Linked DNA regions of Homo sapiens: region 2 is linked to region 1. The links are contacts of gene promoters, found by promoter capture Hi-C in blood cells and fetal thymus (Javierre and others, 2016). All regions are on one chromosome and are shown on one strand. The core of a region is centred on a gene start or on the middle of the fragment in contact, and the rest is flanking DNA. Distances in the headings are between cores, read along the strand shown. Region 1 holds the start of C15orf40 (chromosome 15 open reading frame 40). Region 2 has its middle 10 kb from the start of TLNRD1.

What was found. The method cuts DNA at HindIII sites, captures the fragments that hold promoters and counts their contacts. A CHiCAGO score of 5 or more calls a contact.
Region 2: a fragment that was not itself captured here is called in contact with the fragment with the promoter of C15orf40 in region 1 in 1 of 17 cell types (activated CD4 T cells); the score reaches 5.3 in activated CD4 T cells.

The regions. Positions count from the first base shown.
Region 1 is chr15:83,009,680-83,014,415 of GRCh38, reverse strand. C15orf40 (chromosome 15 open reading frame 40) reads left to right here and starts at 2,777. Exons shown (of 4, transcript NM_144597.3): 1 at 2,777-2,919; 2 at 4,053-4,179. The coding sequence starts at 2,809. It overlaps LOC124903542 (a long non-coding RNA gene), which reads right to left and starts at 2,675. Exons shown (of 2, transcript XR_007064742.1): 1 at 1,357-2,675. RefSeq lists an enhancer at 2,540-2,599. The HindIII fragment of the contact is 2,628 bases long and covers 1,285-3,912 here.
Region 2 is chr15:81,008,902-81,013,803 of GRCh38, reverse strand. No RefSeq gene overlaps it. Among named protein-coding and RNA genes, the nearest start is that of TLNRD1, 10 kb to the right of the region's middle. The HindIII fragment of the contact is 3,188 bases long and covers 1-2,967 here.

The sequences.
Region 1 (4,736 bases), core at 1,528-4,027:
GAGCACCTCTTAGCTCTCCTCACCCATCTAGCCAGATGCCATCGTAACTCACCTTCACAGACGTCCCCTTTATTTCCATGACAACTGCCAAACCTCTAATTGAGGCTGACGTGACTTCACCCAAAGCAGATTCTACAAATGACTGCTATATAATGCTGGTTCAGCTTTTGTGCCTCAATTCTTAACTGATTTCAAAGAAGGGAAATATGGTTTTGGTTTAACACCTGGCTCACTTTCTTCTGCTCAAGCCTTTATACTGCATGGCCTCAGTGGCCATGTGGACAACCCAGCTACACCTAGGTTTCCAGTTTCTTCTTTACCTCCAGCAACCTTCACCATTCCTTATCATGGCCACACCATATACCCTATCATGATGTGGAATTGCTCTACATCTGAAATAGGAAATTCAGACATCCCACTCTCTGGCCACAACCTTTGGTGTTTCTTCCAGCTCTCACTCACATTCCAGTTACACCCGTTATTGAACCTAAGACTGCAGCCCCTTGTCCTCTCTGTTCTTTTCTTCTTTACTTCCTTCTTTACCCAGTTAGACTCTACTTTTGGTCTCCCTCAACCCCTCTCCACCTTTGGTCTTTAATAACTTTAACCATTTCATCAATAACCCTCAACCCACTTAAATATACCTGAATCAATCCAGTTGTCTGCCTTATCTTCAACTTCCTGACTGCTTTGGTAGTAGCACTGGGGCCAAAAAAAAATTTAATTAAAAAAAAAACTTCTTAGCTGGTGAATCCAGGCATCTAAAGTAACGTAACTATAGGCCAGGCGCTAGCTCACGCCTGTAATCCTAGCACTTTGGGAGGCCGAAGTGGGTGGATTGCCTGAGCTCAGGAGTTCGAGACCAGCCTGGGCGAAATGGCGAAACGCCCGTCTCTACTAAAAATACAAAAAATGGGTGTGGTGGCGCGCGCCTGTAGTCCCAGCTACTCTGGAGGCTGAGGCAGGGAGAATTGCTTGAACCTAGGAGGCGGAGGTTGCAGTGAGCCGAGATCCCGCCACTGCACTCCAGCCTGGGCGACAGGCTCTTCCCATCCCCCTGTCTCAAAAATAAACAAAAATAAAATAAGGTAACTATAGATTGGGATCATAGATGATTTCACGGTCTCCCTTAACTGTCTACCGCTGGGTGAGTTGCAATAGTCAGCCCTTTGCCATTCTCAAGAGTCCCAATATACCTTCAACACCTCCCCCGCCTTAGTTAATGAAAGAAATTCCACCTCCCATCACCAAACCTACAAACACAGCTACATGTCCACCTAAGCTTTCCCTTAGGAAGGAAGGAGTGTCTAAGGCCTCCTGTAGAGAACTCAATCTCTACTTGAGCTCAGATCCTACCTCTTCAGGAACCGTCCTCTGCTGTAACCTCTCTTCTCCTGGCTCTTTCCTACCAATCTTCAAATATGATAAAAATAAGTCTCTGAATGTCATGTGCCCCTCCAGATACCAATTGCTCCTTCACAGTGAAGTCACTGGATTATTCTCTACAATTATCTCCATTTCCTTCTCTCCACTAAAACTGCTGTAGCCCGGGTCACCACCACCACCCTGATTTCTAAATCTTGTGGCCACTTCTCAGTCGTTACATGTGACATGTTCTCTCCAGAGTGTTCATCACTGTTGATGTTCCCTCTTGAAGCGCCCTTCTTTAGCTGCCGTTACACCGTACTCCTACCTGGTCAGTGTCCTTTGGTGACTTCTCTACCTGCCCTTGCTGTTCTAACCTGGGCCCTCGTGCTCTTTACACACTCTCTCATCCATTTCCATAGCTTCAATTGCCATCTGCTTTCAGAAGATTCCAGAATCTCTATCACCAGCCTTGATTTCGCAAACTCCAGTCACATATATTCAGTTACCCCTTTAACATTTGTATTTGGATGTCCTGTGGGCATCTCAAACTCATTATGTCCAAAGCTGAACTCCTCACCTCGGCCTCCCAAACCTGTTCCTTGGGCCCCAAACCTGGGCATTTCCTTGACTTTTCCCCCTTATTCGCACATGCAGTCATTCCCAAGTTCTGATCATTTCAGTTCCTGAAGATCCTTGAAATGATCAGCGCTCCACCCTCCCTGCGGTTACTCTAGTTCAGGCCACCCTCTCCCATTTAGGGGGCGGATCTCCCTGTCTCTGGCTTTTCCTCTGTCGGCCACAGTGCAGCCGGTGTCTTTCTAAAACCCAGCAAATTGGGCTGCTAATAATCCCTTGCTTGAAAGCCTTCAGTGACTCCATGATCTTGCCTCTGCTGATTTGTTTCATGTCTCTCCATATCACATGTCGCAGTGTATTTCCTCTTCTTTTACATTGTGGGATCCGCTGCGCCTGGCACAAGGTAGGTGCGCCATCGATACGTGGAAGATTCACAAGGGCCAAGCCGCCACGAGGCTCTATATCGACTTGATGGCCACAGGCAGCGCGTGGGACTCTGCATCTGCTGCTTGGCTGTGGGAGCGAGAAGACACCTGGCCCTGTGCACTCCTTGCCGCGCTCTCCAATTCTGAGAAGTGACAATACCTTTCTTTCCCCGATTAGGAAAGAGGTGACACACCTTCCTATCAGCTGAGCAGGGTGGGCCAAGACACGGTGAGGCCTCAGCTCCGCAGCTCCACTTCCTGGGGCTCGGCCCGTTCCAGAACAAAAGAGACTCGCGCATGTTCTGCGGCCACGAGACTCGCTCCCGCCGGCCTTAAGGTGTCGCCCTCTGGCCAGAGCGGATGCGCCGGGCGGTGGGGCCGCTCCTGCCGGCTACCTGCGCAAGCGCAGAGGGCTCTTCCGGCGCCTTCCCAGGCGGGGATGCTGCGGCTCCGCAGCGGGCTGAGGCACCTTCGGGCAACACCCAATACTCGGGGCTCCGCTCGGCTTCTTTGCGCCGAGATGCCTAAGAAGGCTGGTGCGACGACCAAGGCCAGTAGCAGGTCCCGTGGCGGCAGAGGGGTGGGCCTCAGGGGTACTTGTTGAAGAGCGCGGGAGAAGCGGGGCCCGGGAGTGAGTGGAGGCACTGCCAGCGGCTTGCCGTCTCTCAGTTCCGGGGCTCAGGACAGCCGCCGCCACCCCCAGAGCTGCGGCCTGCTGCCGTCGCCCCGCCTCAGTAGGCTGCGCTGCCGTCCACCTGGTGATTTCTGAGCGCTGGGCCCGGCGGCAGCCGAGCTCTCCTTGGGCTGCGTGTGCTGACCTTTGGCCTCCTACCCGCACTCCCAGTCCAGCAATTCATGTTCCCGCAGCGGCATGACCTGCGTTTCCCCAGGAGGCTGTATTCTGCTTTCTCCTCCCTTGCTTTGGCTGATCGCACCCCTTCTGTCAAGAATACAGCACTCCCATTTCCACCATCTTTGTTTGGCCAACCCCAGTCCGTTTCTCAGACTCAGCTCAAGCACTGCCTCCTGCTGGCAGCATTCTCCAGTGCCCCAATGCTGATTTGCCTGTGGGGTAATGTTCTGTGCCTATCTCATCGGTGCACTTAGCACAGTGTATTATAATTTTGTATGTTCTTTCTCCCTCGCAGCAGTCCGAGCTCCTTGAGAGCAAGGACCATGTACCTTTTCATCTTTACATATCCATTGCCTACATATTTGTTGAACGAAAGTTCCTAGCACAGCCCCTGTCCCATAACAGGCCTTTAAATATCAAGCACTATTTTTTTTTCCTCCCTTTCCCGCAACATGCAGACATACACACTTTCACCAACATTTATTAGCTCCGACTGCATGAGATACAATGATGAATAATAAATGATCCCTGCCCCCAAGGAATTGGAAATACAAAGCAGAGGGAGGAGCAAGCATTAAGGTTTAGAAGCCAGAGTTAGGTTTTCTTGCAAGGGGGGAAAAAACACTGTTGGGTTGATGGGAACCCTTCGTGGGAAAATTGAGTAGAGCCTTGAAGGTTGTGGGAAAAGCTTTCTAGGTGGCCAGAAGTCCCTGGACACCACTGATGAGCCTAGTTTGTCTGTTAAGGGTGAAAGGGGGTAGTGGAAGAATCAAATTAAATGTGTGGGAAAATATTTTGTAACCTGTAAAGTTGTGTGGTTGTCATTTTAGGGTAAAAGCCAGAGCAAGGAACCAGAGAGACCACTTCCTCCCTTAGGTCCTGTGGCAGTTGATCCTAAAGGATGCGTCACCATAGCCATCCATGCAAAACCTGGCTCCAAACAAAATGCTGTAACAGGTATACCTGGACACTGGGGTGGGATTCAAGTGTGAATCAGGTGTCTCCTACAGCCCTCCTTTGCTTTGGTTAGCTGAAAGCTTATTCTATGACAGTTGATTTTTCACATCTGCAGTTAGAGGCTTCTCCATTTTAAAATTCTAGATTCTAATGTAAAGGTGTCTTAAAGTGAATATATCTTTAAATCATGCCAAGTTACACGAAAACCATTGTATATTTTCCTCTTTAAAAATACAGTATTTTAGAAAGGACAGTTATGGAAACTTGTGTGTAGTCTGGATTATTCTTAGTTTGTCCTGTTCCAAAACTGGAGACATTGGCCAGAGAAAGAAGAGACATTTTAGTGTAGTTTAATGATCACTGGCCTAAGGAGAGGGAGAAAACTTGAGATCTGAGACCCGTGATCAGTTCCTGTGCGAATTTGTTTTAAATCAAAACAGTATAAAACATTCATGGGTCCAGTTTTTTCATCTGTCAGATGAGATCGTTGGACTAAGTTAGAGGCTTTCAGGCTATTCTCTGGAGTGCTGGAGGTGCCTCAGGAATCAGCTTTGGGC
Region 2 (4,902 bases), core at 124-2,623, 2.0 Mb after region 1:
GCCACCCAGGCTGAGGACTGCGGAAGCGGGTTAAGGAGAAGCAGGATGTGGGGTGAGTGTTCCAAGGGACAGCTTGTGCAACAGCTTGGAGGCAAGAAGACAGCATGACACTGGAAGGACCTCTAAAAAGTATAATTATGGGTAGACTGTGAGAGACCAGACCTGCTAGAAATGCCTCAGTGAGGAGTTTGCCTTTTATCCTAAAGTCCACGGGAGAACCATGGAAGTGTTCCAAGTAGGTGAAGAGCAAAGGCAGCTGCAATTTAGAAATCCAAGTGGAAGTTCCTTGACAAACCAGAGGTTTATCTTCTTCAAGCATCCCTTAGGATACCAGGATCATGAAGCAGGTGGAAAGCCATCTGTCCATGGAATCAACTCTGCCCGAGTCTTTACAAGGGGCCTGTGGGCATCCAGGGCCCTCCACAAATGGTCCAAGAGGAGCTCAGACCAAAGGCTTAAGTGAGGCTTAGGAAGAAACCCATAGGAACTGTCATTGGAAAGATTAAAAATTTAACAGAGTTGAAGAGCATTTCGCCTCAATGGGCAGAGGGACACTATCCTAAAAATCATTCATTCACTATAGCCAAGTGGCTAAGAATGCTGTCTCTGTCACAAGACCTTGATTCTTACCTTTATCCCCCTACTTACTAGTTTCTTTGACCCTAGGCAAGTGGTTTCAATTCAGCATCCTCATCTGTAAAATGAGAACGACTCTTCATACCTCAAAGGGGTTGCTTTAAGGACTGAGAAACACAATGTAAAGTTTCTAGCGTATACATCAGGAGCTCAAAAAAATGCCAGCTATTGATTTTCTTTCATTAAACAAACAATTTAGCATCCTGGTCACCTTCTAGGGATGACAGATGAAAAAGACACAACAGATTGCCTTGAAAAGCTCCCAGTCTATCAGCCAGACAGGTGCACTCTCCAGGCCAGGTGCATCTTCAGGAGCCCAGTTCAGTTCTTGGTGATCCACAACAATGGCGGGCAGCCAGGCTCAGGACTCTTCTGCAAGTGAGCTGGGCCCACTGGCCCCACCCATGGCTGCTGATCCAAGGCCAGGCTAGCTGCTTCAGTGAAGTAGGGGAAAGCTGTTCTGCTTCCTACAGTGCAGATCCCATCCAGCAATAGCCTCACACTCTGCATCAACACCACCTCAGAATTAAAGAGCAGCCAGGCGCAGTGGTTCATGCCTGAAATCCCAGCACTTTGGGAGGCCAAGGAGGGCAGATCACAAGGTCAGGAGTTTGAGACCAGCCAGTTCGAGATCAGCCTCTGGCCAACATGGTGAAACCCCACCTCTACTAAAAATACAAAAACTAGATGAGCGTGGTGGCACTCTCCTGTAATCCCAGCTACTTGGGAAGCTGAGGCAGAAGTGCTTGAACCTGGGAGGTGGAGGCTGCAGTGAGTCGAGATGGCACCACTGCACTCCAGCCTGGGCGACAGAGCAAGACTCTGTCTTGGGAAAAAAAAAATCAAAGAGCAGAACAGAAAATGATCCCTGAGCCTTGGAATAAAGCCTACTTTTTAAGGCACCTGAAACCTCTAACTAAAAACTGCCCTCTGGCTGCACAGAAAATACATTCGATGGAATTCCCACCTACATTATATGCGGTCGCCTGGCACTGAGAGTAGGAAAGTGGGGTTCTGATGTCAACATCCTTCTCCCTGGTCAGCAGGATAATATATCCAGATGATCAAATCTAGGGACTATGAGGCCCCAAACAGCCAAAGATCTAGATTAGAAGATCCTTAGGAACATAAATTATGGCACTTATCCTGGTCCCTTGTAATGTGTTTTATCTTGCTATCACTTCCACTGCATTCTAAGCTCTTATCCATATTCCCAACACTTATTGTTAAGTACAGCATCCTCTCTGTACAGTCAGGCTTAAGAAAGGTCTACTGAACACTGTTGAAAAATCCATGGTGAAGATCCCAGTATCTTGATATCCCCAGGAGGCTCCAACTAATGTCCTATACTCTGTATGGAGTTTGTGAGTCATTCTTCTCTCAGCCACACACATACACACACAGGGAAAAACAATGCAAAAGGAACAATTTAGATTAGGCAATTAGGAAGTTCTTCCAAAAACTCTAAGTGAACTCCCAATAGATAATGCAAAATTCACTTCTTAAGCTATTTGTAAGATGGTAGAAGCATCTAGTCTCTCAGCTCTGAAATCTGACAAGAAGCCATAGAAGTTCAGACCATACAGGATTTCATGGACATGTTTAAAACGAAAAAAAAATCAAATAGGCTTAGTTTTTTTTCAACATTTAAAACTTTTTCCTTGTAGCATTTAAAGTGAATAATTCTCGTATACCCAGGAAAGAATCAACACCCATGATACAGTCAAACCTAAACCATTTATCACACCTAAAGAGAAGATGCTCTGGTGCGTCATGCCAATGCCTACATACTACTCCCCAGTCACCCGAACAATGAGTACTCAATGCTACGCTTTCCTAGGCCTCTGTTTTCTCCAGTTACATAAATGTAACACAAAAGGATGATGCACTTGGAAAATGTCTTCAGCCTGACAAACGGCATCTCAAATTGATTTTATTGGGGAAGACAAAGGACTGGATTTCTAGGGTTGTTTCTAGTTCTAGGATTGTTTCTAACAGTAGTTGTGTGACTTTGAGTAACTCCTTAAGTAAGGTAATATTTTAATACAGAGAACATGCCTAATACTGCCCCAGACACCTAGTAAATGTTTGCTAAATCAGAAACTTTTACCATTGGCCTTGCTAAATCTGACACTATTCTAGACCCAACTAATGAATGGCATAGTAAGTGTCATTACCAGCAACTTGCCCCTATGTGACAATGGGCTAATGCATTCATTTATTATTAATGTGAATCTAGAAGGTGTTTTGTGGCTGCCCAGGATGAAGCAAAACGTCCCAGTGAAGTCAAGAATTGCCAGTGTTTCTAGAAACTTCTGTGGGCAAGAAGCTTTGCTTGCCCTCCAGAAAGAGAGGGATGAGGGGAACTGGAACACTTGAGCCACCTATAAGGATGCATCTTTAGTGGGCACTGTGGTTCATGCTTGTAATCCTAGCACTTTAGGAAGCCAAGGTGGGCGGATTACGTGAGGTCAGGAGTTCGAGACCAGCTTGCCCAACATGGTGAAACCCCATCTCTACTGAAAATACAAAAATTAGTCCCAGCTACTTGGCAGGCTGAGGCACGAGAATTGCTTGAACCCAAGAGGCGGAGGTTGCAGTGAGCCGAGATCACGCCATTGCACTGCAGCCTGGGAGCCTGGGTGACAGAGCAAGACTGTCACAAAAAAAAAAAAAAAAAAAAAAATAAGAAAAGAAAAGAAAAGAAAGGAAAAGAAAAGAAAAAGGATGAATCTTTAAAGTGATTTCATATCTATTCAGTTGAGTTTACCTATCCATTTTAGTTATGTGTATAATCCAGGTAGAAAAACTCCCATTTCAATCCGGTTTATTAGAGTCATTGTTGCTGAGCCAAACGGAATATAAAGCCATCTTCATGGGGCTCTCCTTCGTCACAGCCACACTTACATAATAATCACAGCAGAACCAGTTTAAAGAAACAGTATAATAAAAATTGCTCCAGAGTAGTATGATTCCATCATGAAGACAGCTAAAATATCAGGTGATCTATTTGTGTCAGTTTTACGGACAGCTTTGCATTGCATTTCAAACACAAAATGCCCACATACCTTAAAAATCAAATTCAAAGTGATAACTAAAGTAGAAGCATGCTTATGTTTTTAGAAATATCTTCATCATGGAACCTGCATGAGAAGGAATGTTTAAGTAAAACCAAGCTGCCAAGTAAACACTTAGAAAAATCATTAACACAAAATTCTATCTGAAGGGAGATGCTAGAATGACTTGCCAGTTAATTTTAGAACAGGAAGCTGATGATCATCAAAATGAGAAAAGTTAAACTGAAAGGGCATCAGTGAACACTAAATGGACCTGGGTTTCCTACAATAATCTCCAATTTCTGGAGGTTTATCATCAATGTAGGTCTCTTAAAAAGTTGGTAAGATAGCCAAGGTAACCAAATGATTTTTCACTTAAACAGTATCTGGCGTACCACCTAATATTTGGGAAAATTAGAACAAAATCAGAAGCTATTAAAGCTTAGGTGATGCCCTATAATTTCAGCAGTTTTTCAGGTCAGTATGTTCATTAAACTTGAATGCACAGCATATATATTTCCCTTCCTGAAACATTGGATTTAAAAAATTTCCTCTCTATGTCTACTTCAGCAAAATCTGGATACATGTTATCTTCGACATTTAAACAGACTTGCCAATCAAACTATGAATTATAAAGTTTAAAATCAGTAAATGGATTCACTTTTAAATTATGCTAACAAATCTTAATTAGCATTCAAATCTTACCTGAAGTCTAAAATGTTTGACTGACATGGTTTTAAAATTATAAGACACCCAATGTTTTAGAGAATCTGGATAGGAGGTTTGAAACCACACAGAATCCTTCCCAGAGGTAGACTGAGAAAACAGAGCTATGCTCATCATCTGGGCCGTCCTTGAGGATGTTATAGTATACTTGCTGTGTCAAATTACTGGAAGGGTAAAGGCAAGGTTATTAAGGGAAACTGACTTTAACATAGTTTTTTTAGATCATACTTTTGTTTACTTTATGAAGAAGACAGAACTAGTCTTTTTTTAAATTTTATGGGGGGACAGGGTCTTGCTCTATCCTCTAGGCTAGAGTGCTGTCCTGAGATGATGGCTCACTGCAGCCTCGACTTCCCAGGCTCAAGTGATCCTCCCACCTCGGCCTCCCAAGTAGCTGGGACTACGGGCACATGCCATCATGCCTGGCTAACATTTTGTTTTTTTTTTTGAAAGACAGAGTCTTGCCATGTTGCCCAGGTGGGTC